7 separate regions of the Homo sapiens genome follow, and all the other regions are linked to region 1. The links are contacts of gene promoters, found by promoter capture Hi-C in blood cells and fetal thymus (Javierre and others, 2016). All regions are on one chromosome and are shown on one strand. Each heading gives the region's core, a stretch centred on a gene start or on the middle of the fragment in contact. The rest is flanking DNA. Distances are from core to core; before and after follow the strand shown. Region 1 holds the start of TP53AIP1 (tumor protein p53 regulated apoptosis inducing protein 1). Region 2 has its middle 95 kb from the start of LINC02725. Region 3 has its middle 76 kb from the start of LINC02725. Region 4 has its middle 60 kb from the start of LINC02725. Region 5 overlaps LINC02725 (long intergenic non-protein coding RNA 2725). Region 6 overlaps LINC02725 (long intergenic non-protein coding RNA 2725). Region 7 overlaps LINC02725 (long intergenic non-protein coding RNA 2725).

Region 1 (4,240 bases), core at 1,070-3,569:
GTCCTAAAGTCCAGCAGGCAGGGTCAAGGACTAGGGTGACATTAGGCCAGGCCTGGGAATGCCTGGATCTTGGCCTGCTGTTCACTCATTGTTGCTTTGAGGGTCTAATTGGAGGAGCTCTGTCCCCAAGCTCTAATAGGCAAAAGTAAGAAAAGTAACCCATTGTTAGTAGCTCAGACTAAGCCCAATACCCTTGAATTCATGGTTCTCTTATAAAAACTGAAATGCTGAATATGGCTTAGCAGAGGATAATTGGCAGGAAGCAAGACTTTCCCGCTGTGTCAAGAGATGGGAATAGGCCAAGTCTACAAAGCTGACCTGAATCCATTTGTCCAATTGGTGAGCCTGTCTGGCCTATCCCCAGGGGCCAGACCCTGCCCTCGCCCCAAGCAGTAGATGCAAGAGCAGAGAAGGATGGTCAAGTCTATCTAAGGAGACAGGCTGTATAGAAGTGTTCTGATTGCATGGGAGCAAATTTTAAGAGAAGTACCATGCATGGATAACAATGTTCAAGCCACAGTAACCGCACACTGGTAAACTGTGGTTAAACTTGGTGCAAAAGTAATTGTGGTTTTTGTCATTATTTTCAAATGGGTCTTAAAAAGGAGTGTTGGGGGCCAGGTGCGGTAGCTCATGCCTGTAATCCCAGCTCTTTGGGATGCTGAGGTGGGCAGATCACTTGAGGTCAGGAGTTCGAGACCAGCCTGGCCAACATGGTAAAACCCCATCTCTACTAAAAAATACAAAAGTTAGCTGGGTGTAGTGGTGGGTGCCTATAATCCCAGCTACTCCGGAGGCTGAGGCAGGAGAATTGTTTGAACCCAGGAGGTGGAGGTTGCAGTGTGCTGGAGGTTGCGGTGTGCTGAGATGGCACCACTGCACTCCAGCCGGGGTGACAGAGTGAGACTCTGTCTCAAAAAAAAAAAAAAAAAAAAGATTGCTAGGGGAAGGCTGGAAGCCCAGGGAGGAAGCAGGTGTTCCCTGCCCAGCAGTGATTGCTCCCTGGTTGCTGGAGGAACGATGGAATCAGAGTCACCCGAGGACCAAAGCTCCACACCTCTTGCTATCCCAGACTCTCTGGAACACCAGGAAGAAAACATATTTGGACAAAAATTATTCTTTGCAACATTAGAACTTTTGATTCTGGAATGAGACAAGGAAATATGTATGTATCTCAGAGAGACAATGAATTTTTAAAAGGAAATTGGGACCGTTTCTCAGGGTGAGATGTCTTATCCGGTTAACTGCGAGCCCCCAGGGATTTCTACTCAGAGTGTTCATCACATCAGGTTTCCATTCTCTACAATAAAAACATGGCTAGGGAGAAATTACCCAGCACTGGCAAGAAAGAGCTCCAAAATAGAAGCAGCTTTTGAGGAATTTGGAGGGATAAAACGGAATAGTATGTCTGAAAGTTGGCAACATGTAAAAAGGCTAAAAATGACAATTCTGCCTGTGATACTATGTCTAGTGTGCAACGCTTCATTCAAAAGGCAGGCACGTCTCCCCTCCAGGCGGGAGTGGGAATCTCAGTGGGGAACCGGGAACTGCGTTTGAGCTGATGCAGACTCAGGGTCAACTCGACAAGGGAGCCCGGCACCCAGACACAGCGGCGTTCACCTCACCTTGCACCGTCTTTGTCGGTCTTACAGGCATCAGCTTTCCCAGCCTCATTTGAGCCGGGATCTGAGTTGCATTTCTTTCTGGGTCAGGCCTTGCCATTAGGGAGAGATGAAGTCAACTGATGAGCGTGCCAGCCTTGAGGAAGGACAGAGTGCGGGAAGCAGAGTGTGGGAAGTTGGAAAAAATAATCTGCAAGGTAAACACCTTCAAGTCAATTTCAAGAGGCTGGCTAGAAACCGCCAGGACTTCAGGGGGCCCTGTCTCGCGGGTCTCCCTGCGCCCTCAGCACTTTGGCTTGGTATAAGGCCACCTTGTCCCTGAAGAGAGGCCTATTTTAAGCTGAGCAAGAAAAGGTGAGAAAGACTAAAATCAGCTTTGTGCAGAGACGCCAATTTCTGCTGCACACATGGAAACGATGTGCACATACAGCGAGCTGGCCCAGCTCCCGGCCACGTGGCTCACACTGTCCGTGCTCACCCACCCGTTGCCTTCACCCCCAGCAGCACTGGTTGTGAAAAGGGTAACTGCCTGAGCCACCCCACCACTGCGGGCCTGCCAAGGACAGGCAGGAACTCAGCCATGCCCCGCAAGGAGCCCAGGGGCATCTCCAGGGACGGCTCCCCAGCCTATGGGCTCGCTCCCTGAGAGGCCGTGCTCGGGCTCGCCTGCTCAGCTCACTCCGAAAGCCTCTGCTCAGACCTGCACCCAGTCACAGCAGCACAGATGTGCAGGAGGAGACCATTTCCACGGACCCTCCGACTCCTAGGAGGCAGGTGAGGAGAGGGGGAGGGAGGGGACCAGCGCTGGTGCTTCAGGTATGCTCTGGCCACTGCGATTCACTCTGCTTTGTGCTTGGGGTTTCACACGCATCTCGGCGACTGTGTGCGGAAAGTACAGTCGTGACCATGCGCAGGTGAGGCCTGGAGGAGGTCAGCTAAACTGCTCTCTCTCAATGGTTCTGAACCCTGAGAGTACATCAGAGTCACCTGGAGGACTTACGAAAACACACACTGCAGAATTTCTGACTTGGTCGATGCAGGTTGGGGCCAAAAATGTGTATCTCTAACAGGTTCCTGGGCGATGCTGACGCCGATGCTGTGCGTCCTGAGCCACACTTGGGGAGCTACTGCGCAAGCTCGCACAGCTAGCCGACCGCTGAGCTGGGGCTCAGACCTGGGTCAGTCCTGGTCCACAGGCCAGCCCCTTTCTCACGTCCCCTGGTGAACGGCGGCATGGTGGCCTCATGGACACTGAGCAGGGCCCCTAGGGAAGCCTGTATGGAGGCCACTTCACTTTGAATGGATCTGGGATAGAGGAAGGACGCGAGCTGTGGGAGCCTGGGTCCTGGGCACAGCGGGCATGTCATGGCAGGGTTCACCAGCCTCCTTTCAGCAGTTCCCTAGTTCTGCCCCAGCTACCTGTGGTTGGTGGTGGGAGGTTTATTTGTTAGTTCCTTCAGCAGTGACTCACCACACTTACTGAGAGCTTACCGTGTGCCAGGACTGCCACAGGTATGGGGATGCAGAGTGTCCACAGCCCCCCAGAAGATTGATGATAGCACCCTCCATGTAGGAAGGGCTGTGACTGCAGACAGGGCATGGGGCGGGGCACCTGTGTTTGCCACAACCTCTAGAGGGTCCCTTCATATTCACGTCTGTGCGTGGGGCCCTCCTCCACCCAGATCTGCTTCCGCAGCACAGCCACACAAGTCTACAGCTGGTGACTGTGGCTGGCAAGCAGGGGAAGGTGGGTGGGGGCGGCAGCCGTGGGCTTTCCACTGGGTCCCAGCAGACCAAGTCCTGGTACAAGGAAGCACGGGCTGGCACTGGCAAACCCTCCTCAGGGAGCAGCAGGCCAGGAACCTGGGCTGGGACTAATTATTGCTGAAGAGAGAACAGGGCCAAGTGTCCCTCATGTCCCCCCAGCAGCCGGGGCAAGCAGAGAAAGAAATGTCGGAACCGGGGAGAGGCCCCTGCCTCTGCACAGGGCTAAACATCATGCCAGCTGGCAAGGGAGAAATGGGTACAGGGCCCAGGGGCATTATCACAGAAGAAGGCAATGAAAGGTGCGTTGGGGGCTGAGGCAACCCATTATAACTGCACACATCACACACCAGGGATCCACTAATTTAGACTACAATGTGAATGGTCTTTTGAAACTGAGATGTGTGGGGGCCCAGAGGGAGGGATCCACCCAGCTGGGAGGAGGTTAGGGAGGTCTTCCTTAAAATACTTCCTGTTCCGTCTCAGAGAACCCATGGACACTGGCCAGGGGAGGGAGAGGAAACACGTCGCAGGTGGAGAGAATCGCTTGTGTGAGGGCACAGAGCGGGGCAAGAAGACAGTGGTGGGCTTTCCCCAGGAGCTGTTCGGCAGAGGGAAAGTGGATGCTGAGCTCTTCCTCTTCCCTGGAGCAAGTCCCATTTCCTCAGAGAACACGGCCCCCTTGGGCCAAAAGGACATGAAGAAGCTCTTGCTAATGCCAGCCTGGCTCTCCTCATCCCGCCCCCTGCACCCCTGCCCTTCTGGCTGCCCTCCCTTCTCCTAGCTCTGTCCCCTCTCACTTCAGGAGTCTCAAGTCCTTCAGACTACTCCAAAGTCGGGGGATCTCTGGATGG
Region 2 (4,240 bases), core at 496-2,995, 940 kb after region 1:
AAAAAAAAATCCCACAAAAAAACAAATAGAATTGACAGGAGAAATAGACAAATCCACTATATAGTTGAAGACTTCAACATTTCTTATTCCATTAACTGATAGATAAGCAAGCAGAAAACCAGTAAGAATATGGTTGGCCTAAATAGCACTATCAATCAACTTGGTCTAATTGACATTTATAGAAATCTCCATAAATAATAGGAACCACACCTTCTCAAGTACACATAGAACATTAATCTAGATAGACCGTACTCTGGGCTAAATCATAAAATATGATGTGACATATTAAAAAACAGAAATCATAGGAAATATGCTCTTAGACCACGATGTAATTAAACTAAAAATTGTTAGCTGCAAGATAGCTGGGAAATCTACAAATATTTGGAAATTTAACAAAAATACTTTAAAATTATGCATGGGTCAAAGAAGTCTCAAGAACAATTTAAAGATATTTTGTACTAAATGAAAATGCAACATACCAAAATCTGTGGAATGCAGAAAAAACAGCTTTTAGAGGAAAATATATAGTCTTAAATGCATACTAGAAGAAATCCAAATAGTATGAAACTAGAGAAGGAGCAATTCAATCCTTAGCAAGATAAAGAATAGGTATAATAACAACTAGAGTAAAAATAATGAAATTGAAAACAGGAAATCAATATAGAAAATCAATGAATCCCAAAGCTGATTCTTTCAAAATATCAATAACATTGATCAACCTCTACCTGAAATGAAAGATGGGACATCACTACTAATCCTGCAAGTATTACAAGGGTAATAATGAAATTTTAGAAACAACTTTATGCACACAAATTTAATGATTTAGATTAAATGGACCAATTTCTTGAATGACTCAATGTATCAAAACTCACACAAGAAGAAACAGGTAATGTAAATGGGTCCATAGCCACTAGAAATATTGAGTCAATTACTAATAACTCTCTGACATAGAAAAAAACAAAATTATTCTAAAACTAAAGCTCTGGTAATTCTGACAATGTTTAACCAAAAAATGATATCAATTCTCAACAATCTCTGCCATGTTAGAGGCAGAGAAAATACTTCCTAACTTATTATATGAGGTCAGTATTACCCTAATATGAAAATGAATGAAGACATTATCAGAAAAGAAAACCACATGCCAATGTCAGTTAATATAGATGCAAAAATTCTCAACAAAATATTAGCAAATTAGATCCAACAATGTATAAAAAGAATTATATATAGGCCATAACAAATGGAATTCATTCAAAGTGTACAAGACTGGTTCAGCATTTGAAAAAGAATAAATGTAAGCCACACATCAACTAGCTAAAGAAGAAAAATGATAACATCATATCAAATGAACACTTTTCCCCTAAGACAAGGATCAAAGCAAGGATGTACACCTCTCCACCTACATTCATTATCATACTAAAACTCCTAGTTAATACAATAAAACCAAAAAAAGAAAATGAAAATAAAGATCTACCAATTAGGAAGAAAGAACCAAAATTATCCTTATTCACATTTTATATGGTTGCCTATGAAGAAAATACCAAAGTAGTCACACTCCTGGATCTAACAAATATGCATAGTAAGGTTGCAGAATGCAAGGTTAATGTACAAAAGTCAATTGATTTCCTATATACCTGCAATTAACAGTTGGAATTTGATTTTTTTAAAGTACCATTTATAATAAAACCAAAATCATAAAACACTTACGTATAAATCTAACAATATATTTATAGGGTTTATATATAGAAAATTACAAAACTCTCATGAAACAATCAATGAAGTTCTAAATAAATGGAGAGACAGCTTATACGCATGAATTGGAAGACTCAGTGTAAAGATGTCAATATTTTCCAACTTTATCTTAATATTTAACAAAATCCCAGTCAAAATTCCAGCAGCCTATTTGTGGATATCAATAGATTCAGTATAAAATTTATGTACAAAGTCACGAGATCAAGAATAGCCAACGTGGTACTAAAGAAGAACAAAGTTGAAGGATTCACATAAACCATTTACAAGACTTACTATAAAGCTACACTAATCAAGACAGCGTGGTATTTACTAGAGAAACAACGACATGTAGATTAATGGGACAGAATAGAAAGCCCATAAAAAGACTCACATAAATACAGTCAACTGATCTTCAAGAAAGGCACAAGGGCAATTCAATGCAGAGAGGATAGTCTTTCATCAAACTGTTCTGGGACAATTAGGCATTCACATGTTAAAAAAAAAATTGACCTAGGCACAGACTTTACCCCTTTTGTTAAAAAATGAACTCAAAATAAATCTCAGACCTAAAGGTGAAATAAAAATTATAAAACTTCTAGAAAAAAAAAATAAACAGAAGAAAATTTAAGTGACCTTAGTTTTGGCAATGAGTTTTTAGATATAACACCAAGACCGTAATCCATGGAAGAATAAAATTGATAGTTGGCTTTTATCAAAATTAAAAACTTCTACTGGAGAAAAGATGCTACTAAAAAAATGAAAAGAAAACCATAGACTGGAGGACAATATTAACCAAACACATATTTGATAAAAGACTTGTATTCAAAATATACTAATAACTCTCTTTAAAACTCAATAAAAAGTAAACCAATTAAAAATTCCAGAAAGGTCTCACTAGCACTTCCGAAAGAAAATATACAGGTGACAAATATGCATATAAAAAGAAGCACAACATTATTTGCCATTAGGGAATTGCAAATTAAAACAATGAGATGCCAGCATATGTTATTAAAATGGCTAAAATTCAGGGCAAAAAGCCTGATAATACCAATTACTGGCAAGAATATAGAGAAACAGGAACTCTCATTTATTAATGGTGGGAATGCAAATGGTACAACTTTAGAATCTGGTATGGCAGTTTATTTCAAAAGTAAACGTAGTCTTGCCACAATCTCCAACAATCACACGCCTAGAAATTTACACAACTGATTTGAAAACTTATGTGTACACAAAAACCTGCATGAGACTGTTTATGGCAGCGTTATTCACAATCTACAAGAAAACAGGGCAACCAAGTTATTTTTCAATAGGTGAATGAATAAACAAACCGTGGTACGTCTACACAATGGGATATTATTATTTAGGGTAAAAAGAGATGAGCTAACAGGCCATGAAAACAAATGCATGAATCTTAAATGGATATTTATAAGTGAAAGAAGCCAGTCTGAAAAAGCTACCTACTGTAAAACTCTAATTCTATGACATTTTGGAAAAGGCAAAACTAAAGAAACATTAAAATAAATACATAAGTAAATAAAGAAAAATATGGGTACCAGGAGAGTGGAGATGCACAGTTGAATAGATGAAGCATCGGGAATTATTTTTAGGGAGGTGAAACTATTCTGTAGTTATTGGAATGGTGGCTATGTGACACTATGCATTTGTCAGCATCATAGAACTTTGCAGCACAGGGCTCACTCAGTGTATGCACATTTTAAAAACTTGATTTAAAAGGTCGGAGGTCTCAGGATAGAATGCCGAATTTGACAAAACAATCTAATTGTATTACAAATATACAGAACAACTCATTGAAGGAGATGAGGGTTAAAAATACTGACTTATGTGACTAAAAATAAATGGTATTGCGGAGCGCGGTGGCTCACGCCTGTAATCCCAGCACTTTGGGAGGCCGAGGCGGGCAGATCACGAGGTCAGGAGATAGAGACCATCCTGGCTAACACAGTCAAATCGCGTCTCTACTAAAAATACAAAAAATTAGCCAGGCGAGGTGGCGGGCGCCTGCAGTCCCAGCTACTTGGGAGGCTGAGGCAGGAGAATGGCGTGAACCCGGGAGGCGGAGCTTGCAGTGAGCCGAGATCGCGCCACTGCACTCCAGCCTGGGCGACAGAGCGAGACTCCCTCTCAAAAAAAAATTAAAAAAACAGTAAATAAATAAATAAATGGTATTTGTACGACGAAAGACAACAGAGATCGTACGTAAGACTGTACTCTAGTTGAAAAATCGTTAACCTGTGCCCACAGGAGTACAGGTTAACAATTATAATAGTGCTATACTTGCATATTTGTATTGAACAATTAAACGGATGGCAGATGATGGGAGCCTAGTTTCTCACTGTTGCAGTGGGAGGTTACATACAAGCAAGTGCGGGTGGCTTGAATGATACATGCGGCAGCAAATTAGATCTGGAGACATCTCTATGAACTCATGTCAAGCTCGGTAGAGGTACAGATGGTTGCAGATCTGTGTCTATATACATACGTGAGTCAGTAT
Region 3 (4,240 bases), core at 1,280-3,779, 920 kb after region 1:
AGGTGGCCCCTTGCTGCCCACTAGGTGGTAGTGGAATCCCACCTCTGTCACACTCAGCACTTTCTGCTCTCTCAGCCACCAAAGTCTGATGACAAAACTTCTAATCTGCTGCTGGGAATTTCAGGTTAACTGACTAAGTCACTTTAATTTTCTTGGGAAAATAGTTGCAGTCACACAAAAGATAAGAAGAGGCTCCTGAGCCCCCGACACCTGCAGTGTGAGGGCAGCCCAGCCTTTCACAGCCCCAGTACAGAGAGAAACTTCTTCTCCTGCTGCCCAGCAGACACACATGCCCCCACCCGCAACCCCACAGTCAGGTCAAAGCTTGCTCCTGGCACAATCCGTGTTTACTTCCACGTCTCCAAACCTGGAAGGATGGCATACTTTGTACCTGCTGATGTCAGCCAATGACCTCTCAGCCTCTCTGCCTTCCTCGCCTGCTGCTGCAGGGAAGGCAGGTTGCAAGGGCAGAGCTGATCATAAATTCTAGTGATCTTCTGTAAGATCATTTGCAGCATCAGACTCTTTAATAGACTCTGCTTATTCCTGCGGTGTAGGCTCAAAAAATTTAAGTAGTAAAAATAAATAAAAATCTCATGTCAGTTAAACATAGAGATATGGGCTTTAAAAAAAATCTTTCCCCTCCTCCTTATGTTTTTTCTTCTATGAATGTATTTATGTAACCTCTGCAGCTAAGATTTTTGAAGGGCAAACTTTCCCTAGACAGGGACAATTTTTAGTTTTAGTTAATGCAGTGTACAGGATAAGCAATGGTGCCCTGTGCAGAGTTAGCGCCCATAAATGTCAGTTGATGCTGCCACTACCCTCTGGAAGTTTCATAGAAGAGCTCCTTTCTCTTTGTGACTTCAACGTCCTTCACCTACAGGATCTCATTTTCCACTTACTGTGATAACAAAGGGCCATGGATTATTATCTTCAATTTACAGGTAGGAACAATGTGTCAGGGAAAGATGATCTGCCCAAGAATAGAGAGCAAGTCAGTGATCAGCTGACCATTTCTCTGTTCTTGCAGCAGCCCTCAATGTCTCTTTCAGTGAAGTGCTAACCTGTCACCCCCAAACACTGTACTCATAGAAAGTAGCATCAGGATCTCTTGAAACAGACTGGAGGCCTGGACCATGCACCACCTGCTCTCTGCATGGCCGCTGTTCTCTCCTCTTGTCTCTTTTCACTGCTTCCTAGTCACCAACAGGGCAGATAATCAATGCAGTCTTCTGGTAGATCAATAGCCAACAATATTTCATTACTGCCGGAATCAGGTTGTTCCAGCAGTCTATTGCCGATTTCCCCCAAGTTAGAACATTTACAGGATGGAGCATGGTTCGTATCCAAGCTCTCCACACAATTGACCTGAAACTCCAAGCCTATGTCAGCCTTTGGGCCTGGGAGTTATAAAGCTGGCCTGTAGAGTAATAGTGGCAAAGGACTCAACATTGTGCAATTGCAGTAAGTTCCACCAGCTGATACTCTATTCTCCTTCAAGGCTCCACTCATGTCACCTAGGAGAGACCTTCTGTTAATCTTCCACTTCAGTTGATATTAATTGATTACTCCTTGAAGCTTACATAACATTTAGTGAATATTTCTGTTTTGAAACACTCCGCTTTTGTGTGTGTGTGTGGGTGTGTGTGTGGCAGAGTCTCGCTCTGTCGCCCAGGCTGGAGTGCAGTGGTGTGAACTTGGCTCACTGCAAGCTCTGCCTCCCAGGTTCATGCCATTCTCCTGCCTCAGCCTCCCCAGAAGCTGGGACTACAGGCGCCCGCCACCACGCCTGGCTAATTTTTTTTGTATTTTTAGTAGAGACGGGGTTTCACCGTTTTAGCTAGGATGGTCTGGATCTCCTGACCTCGTGATCTGTCCGTCTCGGCCTCCCAAAGTGCTGGCATTACAGGTGTGAGCCACCGCGTCCAGCCGGCGAAACATCTCTTATAATGCCTTATAGTAGAGGTATTTACCCAAAGTTCTTTTGCGTTGCTCCCAATGTTAGAATTCTGATGTCCTAAGGAATATGTACATATCATATTTACTTTGTATTATCTCTGGAGTCAGCACTTTGCTTCTCCCTAGGACAATGTTATAGGACAATGGACGGCACATATCCATAGAAAAGCTTCATAAACGCTTGTTGGATGGAATTAATTATCTGAACTAGATGCATAGCTTTTAGCCATATCTAATTCGTTCTGAATTTGGCCAGATTAATCTTCCTAAAACAACACTGTTTTCATGTAATTTCCCTACTAAAAAAAGTTCTGAATATTCCTCACTGCCTAATAGGACTAAGTTTAAACAAGGGGACCTAGTATGTAAGTCAACTTAGCTCATCCCTGTTCTATTTTCCAATGGCCTATTTTACAATTTTCCAGTTGCATCTCCTGCTATCTCTGACGTTCATCCGTTACTGTCCACAGGCTCTGCATGGCCCCTTGAAGGTTCCTTTCATACCTCTGCTTACATTTCTTTATGCTAAAGTTATATTTCTACCTGAAATTCCCTCTCTACTTCTTTGATTCTCAAAGTCCTTACTTTTCTTTAGGGAAGAATGATGAATAGAAAAATACCATTGGATTTTGTAGAAAAGAGATCATTAGTAACACTAAAGATAGAACATGGTATTTCTATGAGGTTGGAGGCAGAAATAAGATTTCTGAAGTGAAGAAAGGAAAGAAAAGTGGGAGCAGAGTGTGTGATTCATTTATGTAGTGGTTTGACAGTAAGAAAAAAGGTGATCAGTAATATGTCTGGTTGAGCTCAGTGGTTACAAAGGCATTTTGTTTGGTTTGGTCATTGATATAGGGATATCCGCAGTGTCGGTGGGAACGATGGAGCAGGAACCTTGAGAGGTAAGAAGATGAAATCTGTTGGAGAAAGAGCCTGAGCATGGTGGTCCTCTCTCCAAAAGCTTAAACCTGAGCATCCCGCTCTTCCACTGTGGTCTCTCCCCTTTCAGCTCTCTGTTCGGCCCCATGATGTCATCGCTGGGGACTCATCAGAGCTCCTCTCCTTGCTCTTACTCATTTCCTTTAACAGTTCCCTCCATCACCCATCAATCCAGTAGTACCAACAATCCCTTTTCCTTCTCTTAAATATTATCCCCACTTGTTCAAGCATCAACCCTGGTGAATCCAAATAATTATCTTTATAATTGTACCATGAAAAAGATGGGATGAAAAAAGGTACAAAATAAAACACGTTGGTTCTAATTTCAATTTATTGTCACCAACCTCAAATAGTCCCTCAGGACTGCCAAAGATCATCCAACATTTTATCAAGTTAGCTCACCTTTCTACCCACTGCAGGATGCTGCAAACTTTCTCCAAATTTTTAAATCCCCTGGCCACTCACTCCCTATCTCCTTCTCTTTCTATACATCCTATGCTCTCATAAGTAATTCTCTTTCTTTAAGATGGAGTCTCACATTTTTTTTAAAAGAAAATAAAAGACAGCAATGGGATCTCCCTCAGCCCCCGATGATAAAACCATTGTCTGTGACCTTCCTCTTCTCTTTCCCGCCTGCTATCAGGAGCTGTAACACCTTCCACCTAAGACCATTGACATGACCTGAGCTTTGGAGCCCAGTCATTGCTGTTCTCTTAGAAGACATCATTCCTTCTTCATCTTCTCTCTTTGGCTTGTTTCTCAATTTGATCATTTCCATCTAATGTTAACCATGTTTATGCTTGAAACTCTCAAAAAAGTTTCTAAGGCTAATAATAACCTGCATGTCCATAAATACAATAGGCATTTTGCAGTTTTCATCTTACCTGACCTCTCATTAGAATTCAGCATGGTTGGTCATAGCCTCTTTCTGAGCTCATTCCTCTTTGGCCTGTAAGACATCATGCTCTCCTGATTCCCTCTTTGGATATTCCTTTTCTGTCTACTTTGCATAATCACCTTCTAATGTCTAATATTGATAATGATGATGAAAATAATAATTAACAAGAAGCAGCCAAAGAAACAACTTATATTTGCTAAGTATTATGTGCCAGACACTCTTCTTAGAGCTTTTAATGTGTTTGTTCATTTAATACTCCCAAAGCCCTGGGGTATATGTTATTAGCTCCATTTTTACTGATGAGGGAATGGCAGTACTAAGAGGTTAAGTTAATTGCTTGAGGCCGCACAGCTACTATAATGAAGGAACTGGAATTCAGACAAAGGCAATCTGGCTTCAGAGTCTTAGCTCTTTATCATGAAATTGCATTGTTTAATATTT
Region 4 (4,240 bases), core at 476-2,975, 910 kb after region 1:
ATGAGAGGGGCATTCGGGATCTTTCCTTCCACAGAGCCCCTCTGCTGGCTCGCCACCCCGTGAACCTCATTCAGCTCAGGCTGCTATTCAGAGAGAGCCCGCGGTCCCCGCCCCTATGCAAGAGCTTAGGGGGGGAGTTAAGACCGCTGCACAAATATATGAAATAAAAGGGCTATGGCAAATGAGTCATTTAAAGTATAAGGAATTGGGCTGGGCACTGTGCCTCACTCCTGTAATCCCAGCACTTTGGGAGGCCGAAGCGGGTGGATCACTTGAGGTCAGGAGCTCCCAGGCTGGCCAACATAGTAAAACCCCCTCTCTGCTAAAAATACAAAAAAATTAGCTGGGTGTGGTGGCCTGCACCTGTGATTCCAGCTACTCGGGGGGCTGAGGCAAAAGAATTGCTTTAACCCGAGATGGAGGCTGCAGTGAGCCGAGATTGTGCCACCGTACCCCAGCATGGGCGACAGAGCGAGACTCCGTCCCAAAAAGGAAGAAAAGAAGGAAGGAAGGAAGGAAGAAAAGAAGGAAGGAAGGAAGGAAGGAAGGAAGGAAGGAAGGAAGGAAGGAAGGAAGGAAGGAAGGAAGGAAAGAAGGAAGGGGAATTGGAATTTTTTTCCTCCTGGAAATGCTTTCCTCTCATGGTGTCTATTGGATTCCTTCTCTCGTTTGTCTTAGTTCATTCCTGGCTGTTCTTTGTTCCTGACTTCTCTTCTTTTGCGTGCAACCGAGACATTCTTTGGAGTTCCACGCTTGACTTTTCCTCTACCTGCAGGTCCCCCAGCTTCACTGGCAATGCTTACTGGAGCCTTCCAGAACTCATTCCCACACCCAGGGCCCCTTAGCTCGAGGTGTGCCATCTGCACCCTGGAGGCTTCTCAAACTTATTACACCTGAGAACACACTCGGTAGCTTCTTCCTATTTCTTCTGACAAATGATGTTGCTGTCACACCTGGGCCAGAAATCTGGACACCAGCCCTGCCTTCACCCCATGCTAACCCTGCATATGCCCTGGCCAGCATCAGGCTGTTGATTCTGCATTCGTATCTTCTCTATGTCACAGACCAGAGTCATTGGCTACAAGGTACAGAAACTTTCTCAAGGCAGATGAGGTAAGGGGAGCTTGTTGTAAAACCATGGCAGACAATTCCATGGGCACCCAAGGGAATGACAGACTCAGCAAGCCATAATGAGGGCTGTGACTGGAACTGGAAATTCAAGAGCCAAGGATGTTCTCTCTATCACTCAAGAGCCCCAGAATCTCTTTCTTTGCTCCTGATTCCTTTCTATTTCAAGAGAAATCATGTCCTGTCTGAAGCTGTCTCTGAGTCCAGGGATCCACGGATATGGAGCACTGGACACGTGAGCCTGTGGCTCAGCCTGCTCCTGACTTGCCTCAGGGCCTATCAGGTTACACTCTCATCCTACTCCTGCATGTCTGCCTTGCCCACCACATTCTCCAAAGACTGTGAGCTCTGTGAGGGCTGTGATTGTGTCTCACTCATCTTTGTATTCCCCAGAAGTCATCACATTCCCTGGCACATAGTGACATGCAATAATGCTTGCTGACTGGACATCTGTCTCTACACAGACAGTGCACACATTTGCCATAACCTCAGTACAGACCACGTCATCTCTGAATGACTGCGAGAGTCTCAAGTTCATCTCTGGTTTCTACTACTTGCCCCCTGTTTGGACTGACCTGTTTCCCTTTGTCCATGTGAGTGTATCCTCTGCAGAATGGCTGGAGTGACTATGGTGAAACTCAGGTCAGACAATGGCATGTCTCTGCTCAAAATCTTCCCGTGGCTTCCCATCTTGCACTGATGCCAAATTCTTACAGGTGTGAAAAGCACTGTAGGATCCGACCCTGCACTGCCTCCTGCAACTCCTCCTAACACTGCCCAGTCACTGGGCTCCAGCCACAGCAGCCCCTCACTGTCCCCCATCACAGCCTTCTAGGACGCACTTGACCCACCCTTTGCCTGGAAGCCTCAGGCAGAGATCTTCACGGCTGCTCTTTCACATCCTCTAGGTCTCCGGTCACATATCAGTTTATCACAAAGGTCTGCACCCCAAACCCTCTATATAAGGAAATACGCCCATTGAGGTACCTCTATGCCCCTTTTTTTGCTTTGATCTTTCATGTAGCATTTTCAAAATGAGCACCTATTATATCTTTTGTACTAATGTTATGCTGTGTGTCTCACATCTCTTGAATATCTGTTCCTTAAAGTGACAGACTTTTAAACTGTTCACCGATATATCTCAATACCTAAAATAGTGCTTGACACAGTTGATTCCGAAAAAATGTTTTTTGAAATGAGTGCATAAGTCATTGGAAAGATATTTATAATGCTGTTTTTATTTGCTTTTCTCCAGTTTTAACCTGCTCTGTGACTTTATGTTTCTGCTACCGTAAATCTATTATTTGTTGCCAAATCGGCCACACATCCTCTGGTTTTATTGTGTGGTGGTGGCAGGCGGGTGGGGGGGCAATCTTTGTTTTAAGGTTTAAATTAAAGTGTAGTGCACTTCTATCCCAAGGAGAAGAAAAAGATCATATAGAGATGAATGGAAATTAGAGGTATGAGTGGTATATTAGTCAGGGTTCTCTAGAGGGACAGAATTTACAGGATAGATGTATACATAAAGGGGAGTTCATTAAGGAGTATTAACTCACACGATCACAAGGTGAGGTCCCACAGTAGGCTGTCTGCAAGCTGTGGAGCAAGGACACCAGTCAGAGTCTCAAAGCTGAACTTGGAGTTCGATGTTTGAGGGCAGGAAGCATCCAGCACGGGAGAAAGATGTAGGCTGGGAGGCTAAGCCAGTCTAATTTTTTCACATTCTTCTGCCTGCTTTATACTAGCTGTGCTGGCAGCTGATTAGATGGTGCCCACCAAGATTGACAGTGGGTCTGCCTCTCCCAGTGCACTGACTCAAATGCTCATCTCCTGTGGCAGCACCCTCACAGACACACCTAGAAACAGTACTTTGCACCCTTCAATCCAATCAAGTTGACATTCAATATTCACCATCACAAGTGGTCAACCATGCTGTCTAAACCCTGTGTATGTATGTGTGCCTGCTCCCGTGTGCATACAGAAGTGTGTGTGTAGGAATGCACATGGCGTGTATGTGTGTAGACACTTCTGTAGCACTGTCCCTGCATGTGCAGGTGCATATGCAATTATTCCCAACACTGTCCATTGAGAGGGCCGAGAAGGAGAGACAGCCTAGGAGCAATGAGGGTGCTTAGTGTTCAAATCTGTCTCTGTATGAAAAGGAAACAAGAATCCTCGGGGTGATGGCAGAGAAAGTAGGAACAAGATGTGCCAGGAATATCGTGTTGTGCCGGAAGTTAAGGAAGTGCTTAAAAACATAATGGGGGCATGTCGCAGAGACACAAGAGCCAGCCCAGAAGGAATCCCATTGGCCAAATCTGAGACATTTTGAGCATCATAATTATTAAATTCAGTAGTTAACGATAAACCTTTGAAAACCTAGGAATGTCTAAGTCCATACAGCTAATAAATAGATAAATAAAGGGTAGCAGGAGGACTCTTGATTGCAGTAGAATGCTGGGTGCTGCCTAGTAAATATGGAGGGAAAGCTGAGGACAGAAAACCATTATGTGCAAACTTTATGATAAAGACTGGGTCAGAAATGAACAGACAATGGGTGCTAGATTTGGGGGATGTTTTAAAGAAGAGCAAGACATCCTCGTGATTTTAAATATCTCCTTACAGATTGCTTATTGTTGCAAGAGGGGAAAAAAGCAGTGATTCCACAGTGGTGAAATCAAGCACCTCAGGCAGGTGATCAAAATTAATATCATCAGTGAGGGACAGTTGATCTAATATGTCTCCAGGTACTTTGAAAAGTACTCAATATCGTCTATGAGGTATGTGGGGTGAAAATGCACAATCTGAACATGTTTACAAGAAAGTGTCAGATAAACTCAAAATGGGGAACATTATACTTTTTTAAACAAGGTGAGCAGTATTATTCAAATCCTTTTAAAAAGTATTATTCAAGTTGTTATTCAATGGCATTAAAAAACAAAGAACGATGTAGAGGTGTTCTAGAAAAAATAAGGATAAAAGGATATAAATAGCAAATAAATAACTGAGCCTAGCCCAGATTCTCTTCTAGAAAAGAAAAAGGGTTATTCAGGACATCAGTGAGCCACGTGTCAGACTTGGAATGTGGATGGCAGACTAAAGTTACTGCATC
Region 5 (4,240 bases), core at 1,096-3,595, 840 kb after region 1:
CAGAGGAATAATTTCTAGTCTTGTCTATATCCAGTGCCTGTGAAAATAAGCTGTTAATTTACATTGTCAGGGTGAAGGAGGAGAGATACGTATGTGTCCTTCTATCTTGTTTAGGAACAAAAGGAGAGCCAATTTTTTGTGTGAATCTGTGTCCAAGCTGAACTTTTGGCTTTGGCATAGTTAGTTTGGGGTCCTGAGATTTTATTTGCTTTCATTTCGCAAAGTCAGAATAGTGGCTATTTCTAGGGGGAAGAGAGTAGAAAGGATTAAAGGGCAGGAGAATGGAGTTATTTTAGTTGCATTATTTTTATCTTTGTTGAGTTATAAGGCTATTCACTTATAATAGTTGGTAGAACAGTGTGTAAATGTTTTAGTGACATTTCTGTACTACCTAATAATTCTCAGTTTTAGAAGTGAAAAACAGTAAATAAAATGTTACAGTTTAAAAATATGTAACAGCTGCGTTTATTTTGTAAAACTATGTTACATAGCTAGCAGTTCTTAGCTGTTCTCATTGTGATGATACTCCTTAGGATGATCTGTGAGGTTTCTGATCCCCTGTGGGTTTATCCTCGTTAACTTTTATACTTTGAGGTTGGTTCCTCCTGCTTTCAGATGCTGGCAGCAATGCCTGACTTTAACCCATCAGATTATTAAGAGGATGATATTCACAATCTTTCTTATACCCATCAACAAACCAATCAATACAAGCTAATTATTCATTAGTGTAAATACAAACACTATGTATTGATAATCAATTCTGTTGGTACTGCCTCTGTCAGCTTGCGCCAAAGTACTGCAGTGGGAAAGCTCAGTTGTGTTAAGTCTGCTTCAAAGGGAGCTTGACCTCACCAGTGAATCTAGAAATGATCTATCGTTAGAAATAGGGAGTCGCTACATTCACTAAGTACAATTTGCCTATCCCTCACACACATGAAGACTGTCCTCTCTATTCCCATTTTGCTCTAGTTTCTATCTTTGCTGTTTACTTCAAGGATCAAAGCCTACGGCTGGGATTTTGACAAAGTGCCCCTCTTATGGAGTGTTTTCTTTGCATATGGAGTGGTCTCTAACAGCTTTTTTTTTTTTTTTTTTTAGCCGTGCTTCAGGACTTGGTCCCTTCTCTCTGTCACTCTCTCCACTTATGCACAAGATACCATCCACTCTTTCCTCCCGAAAAAATTTCATCCCAAGTTAAAAGTATACTTTTTCCGTTCCCTTGGATAATTCCACCAGCACACAGGGTAATAGTTTCCATCTTAAACACAAAAAGATCCCCTCTTAATCCCTGTACAGCTTCACAACCTCTCACTTCCACCTCATTTCTCTTCCCACTTCACACCAAACAAACTTCAAATGATTTGTCCATAGTCATTGTCATCACCTTGAAATGCTTTCCCTTCCAACCCATCTGAATCAAGATTTTTTCCAACCACTGCATTGAAACCATTTTTGTCAAAGTCACGAAAGACATTCATCTCACTAAATCCAGTCAACCATTCTCTCTTCATCTTACTCAATTTTCATACAGCATTTGACATGAGACTACCCCATCCTCCAAGCACTTTCTTCATTTGACTTTAGAACAACCCACTCCCCGGTTTTTTCTCTTACCTGGTTGCTTATTTCTTCCAGTTCTTCTTTGCTGAATCCCCTTCTCTCTCTGACTTCTAAATGCTGGCATCCCCTGAGATCAGTCCTTACCCTGCTGTTCTTTAGCTACATTTTTGCTTTCACCCAGCAACCTTATTTTAAATATTAATTATCTATGTGGTGATGTCTCCCAGAAATATAGCTTTATCCCTAAACTCTTATAAATTCAAACTTGAAAATTTACTTGCCTACTTGACAGTTTTACTTGGCTGTCAAGTACATTAAACTCATGTAACAAAAACAAAACTTACAAAACTTTTATTTTTTTCTTTCTAAACTTGCTTCTTTCTCTATTGTTTCTAAATGAATAAGTATTATCATCATTCACCCAATGATTCAGGCCAAAAGCTTTCATTCTCTAAATCTAATCCTTCAGCAAGTTCTGTCAGTTCTGTCTTCAAAATGTATTCTGAATCCAGGACCTTCTCTGCACCTGCACAGCTGTATCTCTAGCCCAGCCTGCTGCAGCCTCTCACCTGGTCTCTGACCAGGCTACACCTATCTCACTCAGTCCTATCTGGTCTACCTGACACTGCTTTTGACTTCCCACAGACCCTTTTTCACACAGCAGACATAATTATCCTTTATAAATAAATATGATATCAAGTTTCCTGCATAACATTCTCCAATGACTTTTCTTTGTATCTTAAATACAAACTCCTGACTGAGGGCCTAGAAGATACTATGTGACCTGCCCCTCACCTATACGTCCAATCACTCTCTCTGTTTATTATGTTCTAGCTGTATTCGCTTGCTTGCTTCTTCTTGCGTGTCCCAAACCTATTCCCATTCCACAGCCTTTACACTTGCTGTTCCTTGCCTGGTATACTCAACCCAAATTGCCCGGTGACTAGATTCTCATCCTTCAGAATTCTCTCCAGATTCTTTCTTCCAACTTATTTAACTCTAGTTCCTCATGCTATGATTTTCTGTATTACCTTGCTTCGTACTGTAATTCATCTCTATCACCATCTGAAATTATATATAGTCAAACTATTTTTAATGGACTGTCATCTTCTTTAGAATATAAGCTTCAAGAGCATTATGCAACATGCAGAATTAAAATGATTTCTTCTCACAGGACTCCTGATAACTCTAAAGTGGTCATTTAAATCTTTAAGATGTGAGTCCCAAAGCCCTCTTGCTCTGGGGAGAACAGTTTCCTTCACCTTAGTGCTATTCAGATAGAAATTGGCCACGATATTAACCTCTGACTGTTATTTTTGAATAGCACAATGGAGTGAGATGAGCTGGGTCTAAACTCTCCCCAGGACAAATATTTTTCAACCCAATGAAAGATTTATATTTTTATTTATTTTGATGTGCAGTGAAATATCTTTCTCCCTTACCTTACTTCTTGAAAAAGAATGAAGCACTGTTGCTTTGAAAAGTTGACAGACTATTCTAATCAGTCATCCTCAGGTTTGGATTTGAAGGTAAATTGGTCAAGAGTAAAGGTCCAGAACATGTTTCCTGAAGCTACTATAAGTCAAACTCTAATCCTAACCACAGATAAATAAATGGTTTAAACCAAATAGCTCAGAGGTTAAATTGTACCCTGAAAAATATGCTTTGAGCTTCCAGGAGACTCAAAAAATATGAACCTTTTTCCAAGTTACTAAATCAAACACTTGGCCCACTGATTTTTAAAAAAGTAAAACCAGCATAAACTAAACTATATTACCCTTGTAATGGGACTGTGATAGGAAAAATTATAAGTATCTTCAAGAAAACTCTAGAACTTTAGATGCTACAGATAGTGCTGGTAAGCAAATAATACCTATTTCACAAGGCAAAAATCTTTCAAATTACATTCTATTAAAATTCATAATTTTGATTGCTCTGCTAAACTTTGCAGAGTTGGCTCTGGCTTAAATATTAAGAATTAGGAAAGGAGGTAACAGGAGAAGAAGCTAAAAGCCAAAGACATCCCGTTCTCATAATGTGTTGCTGGAAATGGCATTGCATTTAGTTTTACCTTGGGTTATATGGGGAAGTCCTTGTTATTACTGATCTCCACTTCATTTCAAATAGGGCAATTTTCAAATGGACTCTCTAAGTGTAGGTTTTCTGAAGTGATTCTTTTGTAACACTTTTATTTCTGGAGGCACTCTGCAAAACCTACAAAAAATTTTGAAAATTATTTCCTGCAAAAAATTTGAAAACAAAATCTATTTTACTTTTTTTCTTTTTGCCCTATAGCACAGATCCAACAACTAAAATACATTTCTGAAAACCAAATAATGATTAGGAAATAAGGAAAAATTGGAAGATAGGGCATATTGTCCACTATTATCCCCATACATTATCATGTTCCTGTCACGTAAGACACTTAATAATGTTTTGTTGAATAAAACATGAATACTTATACATATGCTCCCCAAGAATAAGTAACATAATTCTTAAAAAAGGCAGGGATAAGTCAGTAGTTAAGTCATTTTTACTTCCAGTTCTGTCATACATTTACATTAAAGCCTTGATCAAAGTACACATTTTTAAAACGTTAAATTACTCCTTTAGAAAACTGTATACATTCATATAATTATTAATTTAATAAATTTGTCTAGAACACCTTACATGACATATA
Region 6 (4,240 bases), core at 990-3,489, 810 kb after region 1:
TGTTAAAGAGAACATAATACTCTGGGCATATTTCAAAAATGATCGCTCTTTTCCTCCCCCTAAAGGAAGCATAAGATAATATTTCTTTGATCTTCATCCTAACAACCTGGGTAAGGCACCTGGGGGAAAAACACATGAAAATGTAGAGATTGTCTTAAGAATAACTTCCCCCACTGGATTTTTTAACTCTCAAGCTTATCTACTCTGAGCCTCCAAAAATTTACTAATTAGCATTTAAGTTCTCCCACCATGATACTGGATTCAGAGGTAGACTTCTGGGCTGCTGCTCTGGTAAGCTGTGATTATCCATATTCACTTGCCTCTCCAATTTAGAGGGTAGCAGTTTTCCCAAAACTTACCCAAAGGGGCTGTAGCCAATTTTGAGAGCTCTCTTTACTGAAGGCATGGAAATTGAAAAAATTTTAAGTTGAGACCCTAATTATTTTAGCTCCACTTTCATTAAATGAACCACTTTCAGTTTAATTAACATTCTTACAATTTGGGAACAGAAAGAGCTCTTAGGTAAAACAAAAATTTCCCTCATCTAGAATTTCGGAAAGTACATTCCATGAACAAGTAGTGCTAGAAGGTGTTTATTAGTGTTCACTGAAAATCCCAGTTCCATGGTCAAGTAACTTTAGTAATGACTGCGTTGAATAAAACCAGATGAATTTTTTTTTTTTTTTTTTTGAGACGGAGTCTCGCTCTGTCGCCCAGACTGGAGTGCAGTGGCGCGATCTCGGCTCACTGCAAGCTCCGCCTCCGGGGTTCAAGCCATTCTCCTGCCTCAGCCTCCCAAGTAGCTGGGACTACAGGCATCCACCACCACGCCCGGCTATTTTGTATTTTTAGTAGAGACGGGGTTTCACTGTGTTAGCCAGGATGGTCTCAATCTCCTGACCTTGTGATCCACCCACCTCGGCCTCCCAAAGTGCTGGGATTACAGGCGTGAGCCACCACGCCCGGCCATGAATTTCTTTACTATAGAATTTCTCCCATCATTTATGTTAATATTCAGTGCTAATCTCTGCGATAGGAAGTAGAGTGCTTTCTGTGTACCTGCTGAGGACTGTTTGTCAAATAATGACCACAAAAGGTGACCACAGAAAGAGCTAGTATTTCCAAGCATACACTTCAGTAAATTTAGCCCTATGTCTATTTGGAATGATTATTTGCTTATGTTTCTAGAGACATAGCAGAGATTTCCGACATCCTACAAATGCAATTCACAAGACATAGCTGTCGCAGAGCCACCAAGATGTCCTTGTTGGGCATGGAACAGGGCACTTCCTGGGCTCTCTGTCAGGCCTCAACTTATCAAGATAATTGTTGGGGTGAGAAAATCAGTTGAGCGACTACTGCCCTGGAGAGAGTTAGGGAAAGAAGGTGGTGAACCAAGAACAAGTCAAATAGAGCCATATAACTGAGGCCAAGTAGGCAGTGACTGAGTCAGCACTGATTTGCCCATTGCAGGGAGTACACAGGGGAAATCAGCTAATCAGAGCTTCCGGGCAACTCATTACCCTTTACAGTGGAAAGCATTTATAATGGAGGCTTCTTCCCTGACTTTAAATAAAGCGTGTCTTGGGAAAATTACTTTCTAAACTGGGCTGTAATGATCCAACTCCCTATTCAATAGATGACTGTGTCGTTTTAACTTCCACAGGTATTAGAATAGCACAATAATATTCGTGTGGGGAAGGCAAATTGTGCAGTCTATAGAGAGGTTAAATGAATGAAGTCAAAATTGTAGAAGTAATAAGGCAATGTGATTCAATAGGAAAATAACTATTATTTTATGAAAATGTATTGTCTGTAGAGATCTTCAAAGGGCTGGAAATGGTCCTGTTATTCCTATTCAGAAGAGAAACTTTAGATCAATAGTACTCTTTATGGCAAAGAAATTGGCCAGTAGAGGAAAGGGTATAGACATTAAAATAGGTTAGACTTGGGTTTTAAATTCCAATCCATTGATTGTCTTTTCCTTAGCATGGAGGCTAGGACCTGCGTCAAGTCATAAAAAGCCATAAATAGTTACAAGGCCTCAAATAACTTTCATCATGCTCTACCTTGATGCATACCTTGGTTCTTCAGCAATATGACTTGGAAACTTTGTTGTTCTCTCAAAGCCTCAATTCCTCCTCTGAAAAATTGGATTAGTCCTACTTAACTCATAGAGTTCAAAGGAGGTAAATTTTAAGTGTACATAAAGTGTCCAGCAAAATTCTCAAGCATACAATAAGTGACAAAAAAGCATTCACTGAGCGAGTTAGTGGCAGGCTAGGCACATTTTACCCTCTTTGGTAAATTACCAACCATCAATGCTGACATTTTCTTTAAAAGGCAATAAAAGGCCTCCATTATCAATCACTCATGTTCCAGGGAAAAGTTATTTAATCTGAGATGGCTGTATAACTTCAGGTAAGCTATTTAACAACTCTGTTCTTGGCCGGGTGCGGTGGTTCACGCCTGTAATCCCAGGACTTTAGGAGGCCAAGGTGGGCAGATCACGAGGTCAGGAGATTGAGACCATCCTGGCTAACACGGTGAAACCCCGTCTCTACTAAAAATACAAATATTAGCCGGGCGTGGTGGCGGGCCCCTGTAGTCCTAGCTACTCGGGAGGCTGAGGCAGGAGAATAGCGTGAACCCGGGAGGCAGAGCTTGCAGTGAGCCGAGATCGCGCCACTGCACTCCAGCCTGGGTGACAGAGCGAGACACCGTCTCAAAAAGAAAGAAAGAAACAAACAAACAAAAAAAATCTCTGTTCTTCTGTCATGTTTCTTTTGAAATAATTCCATCCCATCTTAGTACAAAATCGATTTGGAGTTAGGAGACCTGGAGAGGATACTCAGCTTCCTGAGACTTTAGGCCAAGTTCCTTAACATTTCTGAGTCTGTTTGCTTGTGCATAAAATGCCTATGATACTTGTCCAATTTATTTCATAGTTATGTAGTCAGGAGCAATTGAGATGAAGTATTTGGAAATCCTAAATTAACTTTGTAAAGCAGGCTATATCTCTAGGTTGATTTCAATGTTGTTTCTCCAGCATTGGAAGAAGAGAGTTCACAGGTCTCTACTGTTGGGGGTCCATTAGGGTGCAAAGACTTTGCTTGGGAATTAGGAGATCATGGTTTTCATTCTAACTGTATCTTCCTGTGCTATCTTAGACATTTAATTTTATCTCTTTGTTCTCCATTTAATAAAAAAATTGTTCCCCATATGACAAAAGAAATTCAGGGAGTAGAAGAAAAGAAGATTTGATCTCGACTCTCCATTCTAAAAGTCTAAGAATATTACAATCCTTCTTTTCTGTTGGCATTCTAAAAAATGGAGTCAACATTTGTAGGTCTAACTGGATTCAGTTGTTTATAGAGCGATACCTGCCAGAGGCATATAGTGTAGTTGGATAATCCTGCTGTATTTCTGTAAAATTACCTTTTTCTTTCAGAGGAAACAAAAGCACAGCTTGGTCTCTTTTTTTTGAAAGAACCTTTTGTCTCGCATTCTTGTTGGTCAGATACCAGGTGCCAAGAAGCAAGTGATCCCAAAGGAATTTCACTTTGGCACCACCGAGGACAAAGGGGTCATTTAAAAATTTCACAACCATGGACAGGCTCAGCACCTAGTTTGAAGCATGGAGCCTGATTAATTGGACTGTCATTTCCAACAATTCTGAGCTTTGGCCTTTTCATTTGCCAGAAGGAAAAAGAAAGCAACATTCCTACACTTAATTTTCACAACCTTGAGCCAACAGTATGTGACAAAATCAACCTATTTCTCAACCATGGATTTCTTCTCCCTGTGATGCTTAACCTCACTGGTTCTTTTCAGTTGTCAAATTGAGGTAACATATAAAACTGAAATGTGAATGCAAGAAACCACTCCCATCCACACACTCTCAACATAAAACACACACACTTTTTTATAGCTAGATGCACAGACACGCAAGTACATACTCACACACCACAAAGATACGTCCTTGAGAAAAAAGTTTTTTCAAGAATATGAATATTGTTTGTTACTCTCTGTGGAGTTTTTAGGGGACAGATTTTTTGCATTATGTGTTGTACTTGTCTTATTTCATAACCAACTACTAATAATGATATTATTTAAGATGGTGGTAATAACAGTTGCCATCAATCAAATGCTTATTATATTTGAGGCTTTGTGTTAAGCGCTTTAGTCATAACATTCTTCTCTGAAAGGATATTAGATCAATCTTGTTATTATTATCAGA
Region 7 (4,240 bases), core at 1,298-3,797, 790 kb after region 1:
TTCATATTTCTACTTGGGCCAGGAATGTCAGAGTGTCATGGTTCCTACAGCCACTTAGTAGCCTCTCTAAGTCCTAGGGCCAGTTGCTCATGAAGGTGTCCTTGCTGTTGGCATTTGAGGGCAAAGTTGAAACTGACATAGGGACAATCTTTTATCAGCTTTTTACATTGTACGACTTAAGCTCTAAGCCATTTTCTTAAAATGCTTGAGGACGTTGGCATAGAACCCAAGGTAAGTAATGTTGAACTGAGTGTGCTGCCCTGGTGACTGTTACAGTGTTCTACATACACAACTTCATGCCTCATTGATAATGGGGATTAGTGATTGTAACACTGTGACTCACAAGATGAAAGCCCGAAGTCTAGTTTGGTCACTGGCTTCTAGGTAACCTTGGACAGTGGTTCTACTTCCCTGCCATGGTATATCTACTGTTGAAGAAGGATACTTGTAAACTAATCAATCATCTGCCAAAAAAAAAAAAAAACCTTTCCTTATCTAGTGCTCAAAAGAGAGCACATGGAATAGATTGTGTGTTCCCTCTAGAATTTGTAAAGTAAGAAATGAGCAAATACATTCCAAAAATACGCAATAGAATAAGTCAGTGGTAAAAGAGAAATACATCTCAGATCTTCTGATTCCTAATCCACTGACGGAGGAGAAAACACTGTTCTTGTGATGGCGTCTTCCTTGACGATAAATAATTTAACACTTTTAAAGTAATTTGAAATGTTAGAAGAAAAACAGAATTGGTTTAAAGTTTAGAGATTAAAATGAACATACACTAACAAACTGCATCTCAGCTTTCCATATATGCTTATCTTTTTGTACTCTGACAAAGCTATTAACTCACAAATTAATTAACCAACTAAACAAAGTCAATATAAAAATAAAGGGACAACGGTCCCAGAAGGTTAAAATGCAAGGTACTTGCACAGCAAAATTGCCAGCAAATACCACTCCTTTTTCTTGAATTCACAGAAAAACAAATCTGAAACTAAGTTAGAAAGCAATTGGTCAGTCAGCCAATAACCAGGATACCAGGCCTGGGACCTCCTATAGAGTCATGCCATTTCAGAAAGGGGTAGGATCTATGACAAGCAACAAACAAGAAGGAGAAGTGAGCCAGCAGACCATAAAGGGTGATTTCACTCCATCTCAGTTTATATTCTGATGATTACGTTCTGGGCAACATCAATTTCTTCCTACTCACCTGCTGGAGGAGATAAACATCATGGCCTGACACATACTCTACCTTTTCAACCATGACTAATCTAAACAGAAACATTCACAAAAGTCCAACCACTTAAGAGGTGTTTGTTGAGGGCATATATTGGGATTTAAGGGTATACAAATATGTGTGCGATATAATCTCTGTTGACTGGTAATTTACACTCCATTTGGGTCAACACCAGTTCCTGAGAACTTAAGCAGTAGTAAAGAAAGGGACCACTATGCAAAGGGGGTTATAAAGGATGTTAATGATGACAACAAAGACCACAACAGGTTGAAAATACATGGATTTAGAGGAGGGTACCTGTGGGCTACAGGGTTTGAGAAGACTCCTAAAAGCATTCTGAGTTGGGTGTTGAAGGTTAGGTAGGAGTTGGCTGGCAAGAATAAAATCCAGTTGTAGGAGTTAATAGAAAAAACTAAAATGTCAGTTGCAAGAAATGCCATGCATGGAGATGAAAAGGTAACATTTCTGGAGCCAGTGGTTCAGACATACATGCTGATGGCTAAATGTGTCTGGGGAGCCTCACTCTTAACTCGATTGGTTTGCTGGTTAGCTGCAGAAATTTGCACTTATTCCTTACTGCCTCTCTTTTATTTATTGTTCTAATCACTGGGCATAATAGGAGCCAGGTCATCGGAGGATGGTGCTGTGACAGCATAATGGGCTCTGGCTTTGAAAATAACATCTCAGTTTCTCCAAGGCCCCTTCTTTGGCAGCAGGAGACCATTAGCTTGTCATTGTCCAGCCCTATTGACATTATCTTTTAATTGCCCCCAAAGACCCATCTCCGAGGCAACATGTGTCTGAGATTTTCGGAGCATTGGAGATTTTGGACTGACATCCCAATCCATTTTATCATTTAACTTCAGAAATTCTAAGGGGAGAAAATGATTAAAGAGTTTAAAAAACTAAGAAGAACATTATGGGAAGATGTACGGAAGGCTGTATTCATGACAACAATTAAAGCCAAAGTAAAGTGGCAAGGAAAGCAAGTTATTCTGCAAGAATTCTAGGAACAGATGTGCATGTCTATATGTAAAGACAAGTACACTGTGTTAAATAGAATATTCAAGACCAAAATCAAATGTCTGAACTGAGTATTTTTGTAATTTTGTATAGGGCATAATGAGAGAAGCGGATGTTGCCAAGTCCTGAGAATATTTGCTGTGCCCCCAACTTTTCCTCGGAGACAGATATCTATGTCTGGGTGGTCTTTTCTGTGGCTCCATTGTTTCTGTCAAGTGTCTAAAGTGTTATTATGCCCAGGAAGATGGCCAGCTGCTTTCTATGTACCCTATGGACAAAATAAAGTAAATAGGCTGAAACAGTGTGATGAGTGTAGGTGAGACATGAAAAAGCAGTTTTGGACCATGCAGCATTTGAAATCTAACAGTCAAAGAAAAGGGACATTTCACTTTGTTAACAGCTGGTGCTGGTCTGGGAAGGTGTAGGTGTAGTCTGGTTGGGACCCTTCCGGGGGTGTGTGAAGGCTGCAAGAGGGAGGGGATAGAGTTTCCGGGCAGTCTAGGCAGCGGTGGGATGCGCTGTCTCTGGATTAGTGACAGAAGGAATCGATGCTGCTGTCAGGGTCTCAAGTCCAGGATGGGAGATGGAATCCCATCCCATGGAGAGGGACTCAACGTCTTTGAAGGTCCTTTCTCTCTAGCTTCAGGCTTCATCACCTTAGCGGCTGTGAGCTTCCCCTGGAAGTCATTGGAAGGAAAATGGACTTTGCATAAATATGTCTTTGTCCATGTGCAGTCTTTGGGCGCACGTCAACAAGGGCAGCAAGGCAGCCATTTTGCAATATGCCCTCCTCCTTGCCTGGCTCTGCCCATGTTTCCAGCTCACAATAATATCCTGGCTGCCGGCCCCTGATGAAAGCCTCTCCGGGCCTTTCCTGCAGCCTGCCTTCTTTCCCTGTTGCCCCTCCTCTCTTTGACATTCCAGAATCCTCTCCTTCCTGTTATTGTCCTGCTCATTTCTGATAAGATTATGTTTGTCCCTATGAAGAGGAATTTTTCTTTCCTGTACATTAATGTTTTTCAAAGACACACTAATGAAAAAGATCTCTATCCTAATGCCAGATAATTTATACTAAGTGTTGAGGGATCTGAGAGAGGAATAGGAGGCCCCAAGAGATGGGGAACCCAGATTCTCCTTTAATCACTTGTGAAACACTTGACGGCCTATCACCAACCTTCTGATTCTGATTTCCAAATGCAGTTTTGTTTTGGCTACAGAGCAAGGAATTGTATTTTACAAGCTGGAGTTCACAGTTCAGCTGCACAGAAGGAGTCAGAAGATGTGAGTTCCAGCACTAACCCTGCATTTGCATTTATTTGCTTACAGAAGGTTTGTGGGCCATATCTAGCCTCGGTGCCCTCATTGTAAAATGGGGACATTATTACCTACCTACCTTAGGGTTCTTGTGAGGGTTAGTGAAATACCATATCAACCATGCTTCATAAACTGGAAATATAAATAAAAGGTAGTTTGATCACCTAAACATATATAAATTGTGACTCAAGATGAGTTGCATGAACTCTAGGAAATAGGCCCCATAAAGAGTGTTAGAAAGTTTAGGCGCTGTCTTCATCCTCATAGTCGGCTTCCAGCCTGTTTGAGCTCTGCCAAATGGAAAATGGACCAGAGTGATCATTTTATAGATGACAAAATTGAGACCCAGAAAGGGAAAAAGAATTATTCACATTGGTATTTCCTTCTTTTCTTTTCTCTCTCTTTTCTTTCTTTCTTTCCCTTTTCTTTTTTCATTTTTCTTTTCTTTTTCTTTTACTTTATTCCTTCCCTCCTTCCTCCCTCTCTCCCTCCTTCCCTCCCCTCCCTCCTTCCCTCCTTCCTCCCTCTCTCCCTCCTTCCCTCCCCTCCCTCCTTCCCTCCTTCCTCCCTTCGTCCCTCCCTCTTTCCCTCCCTCCCTCGCTTCCTTCCTTCATTCTTTCCTTCCTTCCTTCCTTTGCTCTGTTTTTTTCTTTCCATAGGAATGTA

What was found. The method cuts DNA at HindIII sites, captures the fragments that hold promoters and counts their contacts. A CHiCAGO score of 5 or more calls a contact.
Region 2: a fragment that was not itself captured here is called in contact with the fragment with the promoter of TP53AIP1 in region 1 in 5 of 17 cell types (naive CD8 T cells, activated CD4 T cells, naive CD4 T cells and 2 more); the score reaches 12.5 in naive CD8 T cells.
Region 3: a contact is called between a fragment that was not itself captured here and the fragment with the promoter of TP53AIP1 in region 1, in 8 of 17 cell types (total CD4 T cells, activated CD4 T cells, total CD8 T cells and 5 more). The highest score is 8.2, in total CD4 T cells.
Region 4: a contact is called between a fragment that was not itself captured here and the fragment with the promoter of TP53AIP1 in region 1, in 3 of 17 cell types (naive B cells, total B cells and M2 macrophages). The highest score is 5.9, in naive B cells.
Region 5: a fragment that was not itself captured here is called in contact with the fragment with the promoter of TP53AIP1 in region 1 in 5 of 17 cell types (activated CD4 T cells, naive B cells, non-activated CD4 T cells and 2 more); the score reaches 7.2 in activated CD4 T cells.
Region 6: a contact is called between a fragment that was not itself captured here and the fragment with the promoter of TP53AIP1 in region 1, in 6 of 17 cell types (naive B cells, total B cells, total CD4 T cells and 3 more). The highest score is 12.8, in naive B cells.
Region 7: a contact is called between a fragment that was not itself captured here and the fragment with the promoter of TP53AIP1 in region 1, in 5 of 17 cell types (total B cells, naive B cells, non-activated CD4 T cells and 2 more). The highest score is 13.5, in total B cells.

What each region holds. Positions count from the first base shown.
Region 1 is chr11:128,940,950-128,945,189 of GRCh38, reverse strand. It overlaps TP53AIP1 (tumor protein p53 regulated apoptosis inducing protein 1), which reads left to right and starts at 2,319. Exons shown (of 4, transcript NM_022112.3): 1 at 2,319-2,396. RefSeq lists an enhancer at 3,976-4,240. The HindIII fragment of the contact is 8,104 bases long and covers 1-4,240 here.
Region 2 is chr11:127,998,650-128,002,889 of GRCh38, reverse strand. No RefSeq gene overlaps it. Among named protein-coding and RNA genes, the nearest start is that of LINC02725, 95 kb to the left of the region's middle. The HindIII fragment of the contact is 5,201 bases long and covers 1-4,240 here.
Region 3 is chr11:128,017,624-128,021,863 of GRCh38, reverse strand. No RefSeq gene overlaps it. Among named protein-coding and RNA genes, the nearest start is that of LINC02725, 76 kb to the left of the region's middle. RefSeq lists a silencer at 1,666-1,864. The HindIII fragment of the contact is 792 bases long and covers 2,134-2,925 here.
Region 4 is chr11:128,034,033-128,038,272 of GRCh38, reverse strand. No RefSeq gene overlaps it. Among named protein-coding and RNA genes, the nearest start is that of LINC02725, 60 kb to the left of the region's middle. The HindIII fragment of the contact is 6,153 bases long and covers 1-4,240 here.
Region 5 is chr11:128,100,776-128,105,015 of GRCh38, reverse strand. It overlaps LINC02725 (long intergenic non-protein coding RNA 2725), which reads right to left. Exons shown (of 6, transcript NR_183639.1): 2 at 3,632-3,774. Among named protein-coding and RNA genes, the nearest start is that of LINC02725, 7.1 kb to the right of the region's middle. The HindIII fragment of the contact is 683 bases long and covers 2,004-2,686 here.
Region 6 is chr11:128,135,021-128,139,260 of GRCh38, reverse strand. All of the region lies in intron 2 of LINC02725 (long intergenic non-protein coding RNA 2725), which reads right to left. Among named protein-coding and RNA genes, the nearest start is that of LINC02725, 41 kb to the right of the region's middle. The HindIII fragment of the contact is 4,086 bases long and covers 197-4,240 here.
Region 7 is chr11:128,152,757-128,156,996 of GRCh38, reverse strand. The region is part of intron 2 of LINC02725 (long intergenic non-protein coding RNA 2725); the gene reads right to left. Among named protein-coding and RNA genes, the nearest start is that of LINC02098, 54 kb to the left of the region's middle. The HindIII fragment of the contact is 5,358 bases long and covers 1-4,240 here.